Regions from separate parts of the Homo sapiens genome. Here region 1 is linked to region 2. Evidence: promoter capture Hi-C in 16 types of primary human blood cells and fetal thymus (Javierre and others, 2016). All regions are on one chromosome and are shown on one strand. Each heading gives the region's core, a stretch centred on a gene start or on the middle of the fragment in contact. The rest is flanking DNA. Distances are from core to core; before and after follow the strand shown. Region 1 overlaps TXNL1 (thioredoxin like 1). Region 2 holds the start of NARS1 (asparaginyl-tRNA synthetase 1).

What was found. Contacts are between HindIII fragments. The CHiCAGO score rates a contact against its expected background, and 5 or more counts as called.
Region 1: a fragment that was not itself captured here is called in contact with the fragment with the promoter of NARS1 in region 2 in 2 of 17 cell types (naive CD4 T cells and total CD8 T cells); the score reaches 5.9 in naive CD4 T cells.

Annotation. Positions count from the first base shown.
Region 1 is chr18:56,600,655-56,607,515 of GRCh38, reverse strand. TXNL1 (thioredoxin like 1) reads left to right here. Exons shown (of 8, transcript NM_004786.3): 8 at 4,460-6,861. The coding sequence ends at 4,489. Among named protein-coding and RNA genes, the nearest start is that of TXNL1, 35 kb to the left of the region's middle. The HindIII fragment of the contact is 1,071 bases long and covers 804-1,874 here.
Region 2 is chr18:57,619,428-57,627,001 of GRCh38, reverse strand. NARS1 (asparaginyl-tRNA synthetase 1) reads left to right here and starts at 5,166. Exons shown (of 14, transcript NM_004539.4): 1 at 5,166-5,294; 2 at 6,351-6,433. The coding sequence starts at 5,285. RefSeq lists enhancers at 4,893-5,232, 4,613-5,317. The HindIII fragment of the contact is 17,897 bases long and covers 1-7,574 here.

The sequences.
Region 1 (6,861 bases), core at 90-2,589, 1.0 Mb after region 2:
ACATACCGCTGATAATGTTTAATGTATAAATTAGGCACAGTAAGAGATTTAACAACAAAGCCAGAGCATGGTGGCTCATGCCTATAATCCCATCACTTCCGGAGGCCAAGGCTAGAAGATCACTTAAACCCAGGAGTTCAGGACCAGCTGGCAAACATAGTAAGACTCCATCTCTATTTAAAAAAAAAAAAAAATTACCCATGCAAGACGGTGGGTGCACCTGTAGTCCCAGCTACTTGGGAGGCTGAGGTGGGAAGATCACTTGAGCCCAGGAGTTCAAGACCAGCCTGATAAACATAGTAAGATTCCATCTCTATAAGAATACACACACACACACACACACACACACACACAAAATTACCCAGGCAAGGTGGTGGGCACACCTGTAGTTCTAGCTACCTGGGAGGCTGAGGTGGGAAGATCGCTTGAACCCTGGAGTTCAAGGCTGCAGCGAGCTAGGATCACGCCACTACACTCCAGCCTGGGTGACAGAGCAAGACCCCATATCAAAAAGAAAGAAAAATAAAAAAGATTAACACCAACTAATAATAAAATAGAGCAATTACAACAATATACTGTGGTTAAAAGTTGACATGGATATGGTCTCTCCCATGCTTGCTCTTTCTCTCACTGTCTCAAAATATCTTATTGTACTGCACCATAGGCAGTTGAAACTGCAGAAAGTGAAAGCATGGATAAGGAGGGACTACTCTTCAGTCATGATCTCTGTCTACAGCAGTTTATATTCTTGTAGATAACATAGGGACAAACATAGGGAAAGTTAATCAAAATTAATCAAAGCTTAGTTCAAGGGTTTCTTTGTCCACAGAGTATTCTCAGACGTTACCAGCTAGGTGACTTTTCCTTTTCCCCCAACGACTGGGAAAGTCTGAGAATACTTTGTGAAGAAAGAGGGCCTTGAACTAAGTTTTGAGAGTAGAATTTGGACAGTTCAACAGGCAGCTATGGGCACCCTTGATAGAATGGAAAAGTAGGGACCTGGACATGAACTTAGGAAGGTGGAGGATTCAATCGTTCAAGGACAAGTCACATGTGGCATGTCTTTTCTTTTACTTGTTTGCTCAGTCTGAATTAGTATATACATAGTAATTAGAATTGAAATTTTTTTCTTTTTTTTTGAGACGGAGTCTTGCTCTGTTGTCCAGGCTGGAGTGCAGTGGTGTGATCTCGGCTCACTGCAAGCTCTGCCTCCCGAGTTTACCACATTCTCCTGCCTCAGCCTCTGTAGCAGCTGGGACTACAGGTGCCCGCCGCTACGCCTGGCTAATTTTTTTGTATATTTAGTAGAGACGGGGTTTCACCGTGTTAGCCAGGATGGTCTCGATCTCCTGACCTCGTTGATCCGCCCGCCTGGGCCTCCCAAAGTGCTGGGATTACAGGCGTGAGCCACCATGCCTGGCCTAGAATTGAAAATTTTGAAATAGATTTGGCATATATTTTATAGGCACAGGGAGGAAAATTTTGATGACCTCTGTGTAGTGAAGGGCGCTATATAAAATGGCTTAATGAATAATAAAGTAGATCAAATGTTTAGCATTTTCAGTTTATATTTTTATCTTGTGTGAGCTGTTTCTGGATAATTTCCGTTTTTAGTATGTCACTGACTTCTTATGTCACTAAGATATCTGACAGAAGCTAAGGTAATGCTGTTGAATCTCCAATGTGGACAGAAATCTTAGACAACCTTTCATGCTATTACAACTTTGAAGGTTAGACTTTTAAGGTTTGACAGACTAGAATACCCCTTCCACTTGTCTGGTTTTGGCTCTTATAGGCATCACGCACAGATTATAATCTATACTTTGGCTGTTTGTTGTTGTCAATGGATTTTTTGTGTTGCAGCATGAAAAGCTTGCCATTGCCATCTTAATTGGAAGTAGATGTTTTTGCTAAAATATGCTCTTTATATGGATTGCTTTATTTTAATACAGAATTTTTAATTACAATTTTATAAAAATACAAAAATGAGAAAATTATAGGGGCTTCTGCTTCTTAGGAAATGAGGTGCATGTGAAAAGATTTTTATCACTATAATAAAAATAGACTTTTCTAAACTGGCCATTCACCGTATCAGCTATTTTTGTAACATTTCTGTCTGTTTATTTTTCAGCTTTTTTAATCCAACTCAAATGAACTAAAAACAGAAGATATTTTAAAATGAAGTAATATAAAGATTGACCTTGTCTCACTCTACTCCCCTCCTTGCTTCTCTGCTCATCTAGCACCTGTCTGCTCTCACCCTTCCCATGTTCTCGCCATTGTTGGTGCAAGATTTCTACAGCTTCTATCATCTGGATCAGCCTTGTTACCTAGGTTTCCTCAATCATCTCTTTCTTCAGATCTCATCCTAGTTGTGTTTCTTAATTGGCCTTTTATTTTGTTTTGGCTTTTGTTTTGGGCTTGCAACTAGGTGCTTTAATTTTTTACCATACCGTGTTGCTCACTAGCCTTTTTTTTTTTTTACTTTCTACTGTTTCATATTTAATTTTGTATTACATTTTGAGGCATAACATCACAATAAAATTAAATTGTTATAAAATGTTTTAGATTTAACTAGTTGAATAGTTTTAATCCATTCTAAACTTTAAATTTTATTTCCTAGGAACTATAGAATTCTTTTGGAAAACAAATATAGCAGTTGCATCAAGTTCTTTTATGTTTGTGCTAGTTTAATATATTGATTACATTTCAGTTGAGGGGTGTTGGTTTTCTTTTCCTCGTTGGAATGTTAGCCCCAAAGTCCTTTTGATGATTGATTGGGGCATGTCCTCTGCTTTTGCCCAAGTGAGCTCAAAACCAGTTGAAGGACTTATGGACTGAATATTAGGTTGGGTTAACATATTAATATAGAAGATCAATGGACTCTTTACTGAATAAATATTTTTTACACCTAATTTTTATGTACCTAAATTTTGGTTTGTCTGAGGTGTAATATAAAGACTTAAGAATGAATAAAAGAGCTTTACGTTTGGGATGACAATCCATGTTGGAATGTTGAATTTCTTCTTTTTTACAGAAAATACACATTGGCAAGTTGAGAGTTATCAACCTGTGAAACAGTATGCAGATTTGTGTCTTCTGTATCACATCTGCTAGAAGTTTAATTTTTAATATTTGTTTTTGTTTTCTTTTGCTTAATCTAATAGCTTTGTGTTTTGTGTTTCCCAAGTAATACAATGATCAATAATGCTCTCAGTGTTTATCAGCACAAAATTTACTTGTGATAGAGATAATGCCAGTTCCCCTTCTAGTGGCTCTTAAAACCTGAATTTCTTACTCTTATCCACATTCTTTTATATGAAACTGCCTTTTTATCATCTTGCTACCTTGTGAGCTTTCTAACATGGTGTCTTTGGACCAAAGGGGAGTTCTTTTAAGGTACTAGAAGTGAGTTTTCTTAGGGTGGGAAAAACATTTCTAGGATTGTGTGATTGGGATTTCAGTGGAAAGCTTTCAGGTCTCTCATGAATGATGTTGACCCAGCTATGTTATATTTTAGACCAGACATGTACTGATGACCTTTATGAGTTTTGCTGGTATAGATACTGCCATTTAGAATAGAATCAATGTAAAATACGAAAATTAAATATATAAATGTACACAGAAATCTTTCTACACAAACATACATTCAGTATTTTGCAAGTAGGTTTCTTTCAAGGCATTTTTGCCCTAAGAATACATTATCTAATGATAAACTGTAAGTTGTCAGTACATTTCTCAATTAGAACATAGTTTTCAAACTCTCCTGCAGAGAATTTGTTTTCTAGATTTGTTGGTAGAGAACAAATTTTTATTCTTCACATTTTTATGCTGCCACATATATAGCAACCAGAATGTTTTTTATAATCCTCCAGTAGAGGATTTTTCTAATCATTGACAGAAACAAGGTTTATTCATTTCATTTTTAATAGTACTCTTAAAGTAACCAGGATCTTTTTCTTAAACCAGAAAAAATTAGTCACTTTTAATCTGTTTTCATTGCATGTCAGTGTATTGAGGGGGAAAGTCTGGAAATTTGCTATATTGGGCATGAAGGACATGAGTTTAACATACGCTTCTAATTCCAGATTCTTTTGTGATCGACATTTGATTTCTAACTATCTAAAAATAGTATGTCAAATATGTTTTACTCATATAGCATCATTTTTTAAATTAACTTCTCTAAACTTTCAACCTTGTTTTTAAAAATTGCTATTTAAAAAAAAAAAAAAAACTGTGTGAAACCAAAAATAGCCTGCATGTGTTTTATTTTTAATTCCTTGTGGCTGGGATTGGAGGGGAGGTCACAGTTTGCTTCAACAGTGAAAATACATTGCATGCCAGAAAAGATCCAAGGATAAAAATTAATACCAAGGTTTTAAACTGATTATTAGTATTTTTAATAACTCATATTTAAAATCAATAGGATGTACATATAAACTTATTTTTGTTTTTCTAGGTAGTTGGCAAAAAAGGAGAAAGCCACTAAGGTACAAAAGACACTGGACAACCATATTGCAATCAGATCTACAGCTCCTGGATAATTGCTTGATTCTCGCCAGAGACTGTCAATGTTTCATTCATTGCCATTACCAATAAATCATTGCTTTTGTTCAGATGGTATCACTAGTGTTTCCATTGTAATCTTGACACATGCAATTGTAAATAAAAGTCACCACTTTTGCCAAGCTTAATTTTTGTCTTTCTAAATCAGTATTTTCTCTTTCCATGTATTTGAAAACTGGTTAACTTCTGATTTTAGTAGAGACTTAAGTGTCTGGTAGTATATTGATTGAAAGCCAGTTTCTTTAGAAAAGGAGAAACTGTTCTAGGGAATTAAGAAGTACATGTGTACACATTCATGGCAAGTTATTTTGATAAGTGAACCTGGAACAGCTAACCATGTTAAATTATTACTGCATTTTTATTAAAGGACATTTGTATATCTGAGCTATGGAAATTACTCAAATTATAAATTAGAAGAAATAAACAGGTTTAATGAGATTTAGCTACTCTTACCTAAAACTTAGCTAATGGGTCCACAGATTCTTTCTTGGTATATATCAAGATTTTAATCTCTTCTGGTAAACTTTAAAATTTGAGTCAGCCTTTTTTTTTTTTTTTTTTTTTTTAACTAATAGAAGAATGTGGAAATCAGACAGTTGGGGAAAAAATACAGCATAGTGAATTCAGAAAACAGGAATTGGCCAGGTGTGGTGGCTAATGTCTGTAATCCCAGTACTTTGGGAGGCCAAGGCGGGCGAATCACCAGAGGTCAGGAGTTCGAGTCCAGCTTGGCCAACATGGTGAAACCTCGTCTCTACTAAAAATACAAAAATTAGCCAGGCATGGTGGCGGGTGTCTGTAATCCCAGCTACTTGGGAGGCTGAGACAGAAGAATCGGCTGAACCCGGGAGGCAGAGGTTGCAGTGAGCTGAGATTGCGCCATTGCGCCCCAGCCTGAGCGACAAGAGCAAAACTCCGTCTCCAAAAAAAAAAGGGAATTATTACCCTTAATCAAGTATTTATTACCTGAACTACCAAAACGTGCAGTGTAAATATACAGAGAACATGATTTAAGGTTGAAAATGAGGTGCTCAAATAGAAATGTTTAAAAGGTCTTTCACAAAAGGCTGGTAAAATACCTATTCGTTACCTTTTTTATCTTAAAATTGTAATCTAAAAAGTATTGGTAGTTTTAATTTTAAAATTTCTGAGTATTTTGAAAACTATTTTTAAAGAGTACATAAGACTGTAAAATTGTGATTCAGTTAAACATTTGAGGGCATTCTTGTCTAGGAATATGGTAGAGATACCATTTGCCTTTGTGAGAGCAGTGTGTTTATACTTGTTTATGAAAAAATTCTACAGAAGTTTTAGTGTTGAAAGAGTCCCTTTCTGAAACCCAAGTGTCATTAGATAGTTTAGTTCATTTGTATATGGGCACATTAACTGGTCTGTGATGATCTTAACACTCCTTAAATAGACCATCTCAGATTAATCACATCTGAAATTAAGGATAAGATTAATATGCAGGGTTTTGGTTTACAGTTTTGTACACTTAACCTTTCTGAGTAATTGTTAAAGTGCCTCATCCTAAGTATTGCTGACCTTTTCCTATTTATACTTGATAGTTTGAAAACCCAGTGAAACAAATTTCGTATTTGTAAAGGATTGGACATCAGATTTATATTGTCTATGTGACTCTTCTATAACAATTAGTTGCAGTATGCAAGTATTACATAATTCAAATTGTAAATAGTGAAAAATGAACGTTTATAGGTAACTATAACGTTTCACTTAATGGGAAATCTTACTATTATAAATGTGCATAATTGGCATTTAAAATATCAAACTGAAATGCTGTTTTCTCCTAAAACAGTATATATATATACACACATATGTATATGTAACATTTATATATAACACTGAATTTTCCAGATGAATAAGAGCATTTGAAAAAATGTAACTCTAGTTATTTTAACTGAAGTTATTTATTAGTGCATCTAGAAAACTGGTATTCAGTTTCTTGTTCATTTTGTCGGACATAGCAAAAAAGAATTTCATGATCTCTGTATTTTGATACATTGACATCAGGTGCTTTTGATGAGAAACAACAGTGAAATATCGTGTTCATAATAGAAACGAAAGTCAGGTATTGCAGTAGGAAGTCTTTGTCAGCTTAATGCTGAAGCCAAGAGTAGCACAAGGTACCACATTCTTGTGCCCACGACAGGCTTTTATAATCCTTCTGAGTTCTCTTTGACATCAAGCCCCACGTTGTTCCCCAGTCTCAATATTCTGTTGGAGGCAGCCACGTAACAATTAGAGTTGAAACCTGCCCCACGTTGTTCCCCAGTC
Region 2 (7,574 bases), core at 3,917-6,416:
AACTGAGATGTTTTGGGAGGAAAAGTCCAACATCCAGAGATGACAGAGACCTCCTCCATACCAAATGCCTTCTGATAGATGTTTGCAGAGGACAAGAAGTCTTCACATTCAGTGCCCATTCAAAAAGGTCCATCCACATCCCCAGCAGACCTCCTGTACCTAATCTTTAATCTTGTTCTTTCTTAGTCCCTGATCAACTGGCCAACCCGTGAGCCAGTGTCCATCAGTCCTTTTTTTGTTTGTTTTTTGTTTTTTTTTTTGAGATGGAGTTTTGCTCTTGTTGTGTAGGCCGGAGTGCAATGGTGCAATCTTGGCTCACTGCAACCTCTGCCTCCCAGGTTCAAGCGATTCTTGTGCCTCAGCCTCCTGAGTAGCTGGGATTACAGGTATGCCCCACCACACCCAGCTAATTTTTGTATTATTAGTAGAGACGGAGTTTCTCCTCGTTGGTCAGGCTGGTCTTGAACTTCCAACCTCAGGTGATCCACTTGCCTAGGCCTCCCAAAGTGCTGGGATTACAGGCGTGAGCCACTATTGCCAGCCTGGTCCTTCAGGCCATCCCTACTTAGCTGAGAAGTGGAAAACCAGGCACAGTGCTCAGAGTTCCACCATCTGAGATGACTTCCCTTCACCACTTCTTTTTTTTTCTTTTTTTTCTTTTTTTCTTTTTCTTTTCTTTCTTTCTTTTTTTTTTTTTGTGACGGAGTCTCCTTCTTGTCGCCCAGGCTGGAATGCACTGGCGTGATCTAGGCTCACTACAACCTCCGCCTCCCGGGTTCAAGCGATTCTCCTGCTTCAGCCCCCTGAGTAGCTGGGATTACAGGCGCCTGCCACCATGCCCAGCTAATTTTTGTACTTTTAGTAAAGATGGGGTTTCGCCATGTTGGCCAGGCTGGTCTCAAACTCCTGACCTCAGGTGATCAGCCCGCCTCGGCCTCCCAAAGTGCTGGGATCACAGGTGTGAGCCACCTTGCCCACCCTCCCCACTGTCTTTTTAGGGTTTCTCCTAAGTAAGGCTAGAGTAGAATGGCTGTTCATATCTGGCATGTGCCAGCATATTATGCAGATGTCAACACTAGGCCCATTTTTTCCATCCTGCACTAACTTGACATAGAGAAATCCTATGAGTCTATAGGTGTAGACTGAGGCGGGGGTAGGAATTTAAATGACCCTCTTGTACAACCTGCTTGCACAGTCCTATGTACACTTTTTATTTCACAACAGAATGTTGCTTTGTAAATTCACTTTTTTTTTTTTTTTCTTTGAGACAGAATCTCACTCTGTCACCAAGGCTGGAATGCAGTGGCCTGATCTTGGCTCACTGGAACTTCCACCTCCCAGGTTCAAGCAACTCTCCTGCCTCAGCTTCCTGAGTAGCTAGATTACAGGAGCATGCCACCACACCCAGATAATTTTTGTATTTTTAATAGAGACGGGGTTTTGCCATGTTGCCTAGGCTGGTCTCGAACTCCTGGCCTCAAGTGATCTGCCCGCCTCAGCCTCCCAAAGTGCTGGGATTACAAAGGTGAGCCACCGTGCCTGGCCAGTAAATTCAGTTTTAACGATCAGATGAAACTAAATTCACCAAGGGCAGTTCAGATGAATCTCTCAGTGCCACCTGGCAGGAGCGGTGGCCCTCAAGTGAGGATGCAGCCAGCCTACAATGAGGAGCTACGGGAATAAGGACCCCAACCTCACATCCCACCTCTGTTCTTCCACAAGTGTTCCCCATTGGCTGCAGCTGACCAGGAGTCAGAGAACGAGGGAGCCCATTGATGTGGTTCACATGAGTCAGCCTCTGGGGCGGAGCAGGATGAAGTGGAGAAATTCATCTGGACAGGCTATGGTGGGCAGCCTCTAAGATGGTACCCAGTGAGCAACACCTCCTGGCATTCACCTCCAGGGCTGGTCTGTGTGACCAGTAGAATATGGCAGAGACAATGACATTTCACCTAACAAGTCAGGTTAGAAAAGGCACTGCAGCCTCAGTTTTGGTCACTGCAGTGGGGAGCTTTCTAAGATGGCCCATGATTCCCAGCTGCTGGCATCCATGCCAGTGTGTAATACCCTTCCTTTGAGTGTATGCTGGACCAAGTGACTTGATCCTAATTAATCGAATATGGCAAAAGTATTGGGATATATCCCTTGTGAGATTAGGCAACTAAAGGTTCTAACTTCCATCTTGGTTGCTGGCTTTAGCCAAGCAAGAGGCCCGTGTGGAAAGAATTGAGGGAGACCTCTGGCCAACACCCACCTGAGTGTGTGTGGAAGGGGATCCACTCCAGGTGAGACTTAAGAATCTCAACTTAAGCTGACTGCAGCCTCTGGAAGGACTCAGCTCTGAGTCCTCAGCTAAACCGTGCCCAGATACCTATTCCACAGAAATGTGAGATAACAAATGCCATTTGATGTTTTGGGGTAATTTATTATAAAATAAAAGGTAACTAATATTCTCTCTCTCTGATCACTTGCTTTAGGTGAAGTCAGCGGCTGTCATTAGCAGCTCTATCGGGAGCCCACCTGGCAAGGAAAGGTTTTCTGACCACAGCTTGTGAGTGAGCCTGGAGGCAGATCCCCACCCACCCAAGCCTTCGGATGACTACAGACCCTGCCCTCAGCATGATTCATGAGAGACCTGAGCCAGAACCTCCAGCTAACCCACTACCTTATTCCTGACCATCAGAAACTGTGCAAGGTAGGGCCTGGCATGGTGGCTCAGGCCTGTAATCCCAGCATTTTGGGAGGCCGAGGCAAGCAGATCACTTGAGGTCAGGAGTTCAAGACCAGCCTGGACAACATGGTGAAACCTCATGTCTACTCAAAATACAAAAATTAGCTGGGCGTAGTGGCACACGTCTGTAATCCCAGCTCCTCGGGAGGCTGAGGCAGGAGAATCTCTTGAATCTGGTAGGCGGAGGTTGCAGTGAGCTGAGATCGCGCCACTGCACTCCAGCCTGGGCGACAGAACTGAGACTGTCTCAAAAGAAACTGCTAAGGTAATAAATGTTCGGGGTTTTAAGCTGCTAAGGTTTGGGAAAATTTGCTTTGTAGCAATTGATACTAATCCATGAGCCAACAGAAAACATTCAGCCAAGAGGAAAAGGGAAAGTTCATAAAATTGGGTGAAATATTCCTTAGGAATAGTATTTGGTACTTTTTTTTTTTTTTTTTTTTGAGATGGAGTCTCACTCTGTTACCCAGACTGGAGTGCAGTGGCACGATCTCAGCTCACTGCAACCTCCGCCTCCTGGGTTCAAGTGATTTTCTTGCCTCAGCCTCCTGAGTAACCGGGATTACTGGCGCGTGCCACCACGCCCGGCTAATTTTTGTATTTTGAGTAGACACGGGGTTTCACCATGTTGGCCAGACTGGTCTCCAACTCCTGACCTCAAGTGATCCACCCGCCTCAACCTCCCAAGGTGCTGGGATTGATAACAATCATGAGCCACTGTGCCCGGACTTGGTTCATATTCTTGATGGGCCCTGAACCTATATATAGAGTTATTTTTTTGAGGACCTCTCATAAAAAAAAGGTTTTCTTTTGCTTCAGGGACAAACTCTGGTATTCCACTAAATTGAGAATGGGCTGGGCGTGGTAGCTCACGCCTGTAAGACCAGCACTTTGGGAGGCTGAGGCAGGAGGATCACTTGATCCCAGAAGTTGGAGACCAGCCTGGGCGACACAGGGAGACCCCTCCCCCATCTCCACAAAAATAAAAATAAAATAAGCCAGGCGTGGTGGCGTGCACCTATAGTCCCAGCTACTTGGGAGGCTTAAGTGGGAGGCTCACTTGAGCCCAGGAGTTCGAGGCTGCCGTGAGCTATGATAGCACCACTGCACTCCAGCCTGAGCAACAGAGAAGACCCAGTCTCCAAAAAAAAAAAAAGCCCACCAAAAAAGTAAAAAAAAGTTGAAAATGATGACAGACCCTTTATTAGCACCTCTTACATGCCCGGGCAGTGAATTTATATCATCTTTCACAAATAGAAAAACTGAAGCTCATTCAGATTAGGTAATTTATCTGAAGACACAGATAAACCCCTCTCAGCGCCTGACTCTCGGCGCAATCGGGATGTTTCGCAGCGGGGCAGGGGCAGGGGCCGGAGCCACCGCCATCGCAGCCCGGGGAACAACGGACTCGGGGAAGCCCGGCCTGGCCCTTCAAGTCCCGGGCCCAGCAAGGGCCAGGACCCTCCCTCCCTCCCTGCAATCGGTCCCAACTCGCTGAATGAAGCTCATTCAGTTTAGGTAATTTATCTGAAGACACACGGTTAGTAAAAGGCAGAACCCAGGTTTGTATTCCGAAGCCCTCGTTCTTTCCACCACATTATTATGGCCTTCCTAACGGTAATCCTTACAATTTTAAATGAACATATACCATAGCTCCTCTCCTGAACACCGAGGGACGCTGGCTCACGGAGTTTAGAAAGTTAACGCATCTGGCCGGGCGCGATGGCTCACGCCTGTAATCCCAGCACTTTGGGAGGCCGAGGTGGGCGGATCACAAGGTCAGGAGTTCGAGACCAGCTTGACTAAGATGGTGAAACCCCGTCTTTACTAAAAATACAAAAATTAGCTGGGCATGGTGGCACAGGCCTGTAATCCCAGCTACTCGGGAGGCTGAGGCAGAAGAATCGCTTGAACCCGGGAGGTGGAGGGTGCGGTGAGCCGAGATCGCGCCACTGCACTCCAGCCTGGGTGACAGAGCGAGACTCCGTCTCAAAAAAAAAAAAAAAAAAAAGGAAGTTTACGCAACCCGCTGCGTCCCCTCCACCGCCGCGCACCCCGTCTCGCAGCTGGCGCGGTGTTTGCTGGTGACATGAACTCAACCAGCCTCCACCATCTGGGGATCGGGGCGACATCCTTGGTCTGGTTTGCAAGAGGACCCGCACGCCTCCAGCTGGGGCGGAATTGGAAGATTCAGAAAGGAAAGTTGGGGAGGCGGGGAAGGAAGGGTGCAAAAGTGACACTGTGCCAGGGTCTCCAGGGCCGCGGAGCTCCGGGACAGGCAGCGCCTTCCGAGCTGCACAAACGCGTGGGGCGGGGCGTCTCTGGATCCGGAAGTTGCCTCTGCCCTCACCAAAGATGGCGGCCCCGGCGCCGCTCGCCCACCTCTCGTAACCAATGGAACCGCGGCGCTCGGCCGATTCTCGCAGGCGCCCTCAGATCTACGCTCTCTGATGCAACGCCGGAATCGCGGAAACCGCCGGTGCACGTTGGAGTCATAAGACGGCGTCGGTGTTGCAGTCTGTGTCCTTGGAGGTGACCAGGGCCACTGCAGGCATGGTGCTAGGTGGGTGAGACTCAGTGTATGGCGCGGTGTTCCCTGCCTGGGGCAGGAACTCTGCTCCAGTCGGGTTTCGGCGCTTTCCTTAGTGCCTACCAGAGTGGGCGCCCCGCGAATGTTTGGGGACCGATTGCAGGGAGGGAGGGAGGGAGGGTGCTGGCCTTTGCTGGGCCCGGGACTTGAAGGGCCAGGCCGGGCTTCCCCGAGTCCGTCGTTCCCCCGGGCTGCGATGGCGGTGGCTCCGGGCCCTTCCCCTGCCCCGCTGCGAAACCTCCCGATTGCGCTGAGACTCAGGCGCTGGGACGGGTTCAGACACAGGGTAGCCCCTACTCCTGCAGTTCTTCAAAGTGATCGTCAGGAAGGGGCTTTAGGATTCTAGTTGTTTTTCTCCCACCCTCATTTTTTTATTGAGGTTTCCGGGGAGACCATACTGTGCAGTAGGAAAAAAAAAAAAAAAAAGAGAGAGACCTGGATGGATGTTAACTGTTCAGACCTACTAGTTGTGAGGCCTTCTGAAATTTTCTAACCTCAGAGCTTCTGTTTCCTTTAAAGTCCAGAGGGAGCTGGTGTTTATTTGCCATCTCTACAAAAACTGGCACTGGGATATCTGATTTGTATGTGTTATTTTATTTCATCCTCAGCACAGCCTTTCAAGATGGGGATTGTTTTTCCTATTTTATAGGTAAAGAAATAAGCTCAGAAAGGTTAAGTAAATTCTCCAGAGTCACCCTGCCTTTTAAGGTACAAAATCCAACATTCCAGCGTATGTCTGATCAACTTCAAAGCCCATATTTTATTTTTGGGTGCCCAATTAGATAGAATAAATATCACAAATTAAAATGATCAGAGTTCATTTTGAAAACCTGGATTATTAACTAATGTTTTTATGAGATGGATGTTATTGAAATGGAGTGGGGAAATAACTAGGATATTAATTACTTATGGACCTCAATTTTTATTAATCGATGCTTGTTCTGTTTACAAAGATAAGGAATGAATAAAGTAGTAAGGTGACTAATAGTTAATGGCCAGACCATAACTTACCCTCATTTTGTCAAACAGCAGAGCTGTACGTCTCTGACCGAGAGGGAAGCGATGCCACGGGAGATGGAACCAAGGAGAAACCATTTAAAACAGGTCTAAAGGTAGAGTCTCTTCTCATTAGGAAAATGAGACTGCATTTATTAATGAGTTATGTCAATTTTCTTGTGACTTGCCAAGAACTTAATTTCAAACACTAGGTTCCAAAGAGAATTTTCAGAAAAGGGAAAGTAAGGAATGCATACAGATATGTGACTTTAAGATTGTTAGATGATCAAAGTCTAAACTTACTTTTTAACATTTTGAAAAAAGGTCTCTTCTTTCTTACCACATGGCATTGCTTCTTGGAATTTTTCTCTCCATTGAGTCAGATTGCTGGGTTTTCAATTCTTGTAAAGATAAAAGTTACCTTTCCTCAGTTACAGTGAGCTCATGACCAGGGGGCTCCTGAGAGGGCTTTTGGTGAATTTACCACAATCCAGAGTGTGATCCTGAGATTTGACTCCAAGACCACCAAGAATGGATTCATTTGTCAGAGCTGACTCATGAGTCTGGAGCTTCAAGCTAGAATGCCAATTTATTAACATTCTGTTAATGAATTAACAGTGCTGTTATTTCTCAGGATCTAGAATCCTTGAATGAGTTTAGCTCATTCTCAAAGGGGTTTGTCAAGAGCTTGGACTCAGGCCTGGTGTGGTGGCTCACGCCTATAATCTCAACACTTTGGGAGGCCGGGGCAGGTGGATTGCTTCAGCGCAGGAGTTTGAGACCAGCTTGGGCAACTTGGTGAAATCCTGGCTCTACAAAAAACATAAAAATTAGCCCAGCATGGTGGTGCGTGCCTGTGGTCCCAGCTACTCCGGAGACTGAGGTGAGGATTTCTTTAGCCTGGAAGGTGGAGGTTGCAGTGAGCCACCATTGCGCCACTGCACTCTAGCCTGAGACCCTGTCTCAGAAGAAAAAACAAAAAAAGGGCTTGGACTCACAACATGGGTGTTAGGTAGTTGATTATATCAGAGTAAAGTGTGGCCTAAGACAACCTTCTTAAAATAGACCATGGACTTAGCTGTTGAACTCATATGCTAGAATCCATTGGCTATAACTGCCACATAAGGAAGATGGTTAAAAGTTCCTTCCTTGGGTCTGGGCTTTGGTGCCTCACGTTTGTAATCCCAGCACTTTGGGAGGCTGAGGCTGGAGGACTGCTTGAGCCCAGGAGTTTGAGAACAGCCTGGGCAACATGAT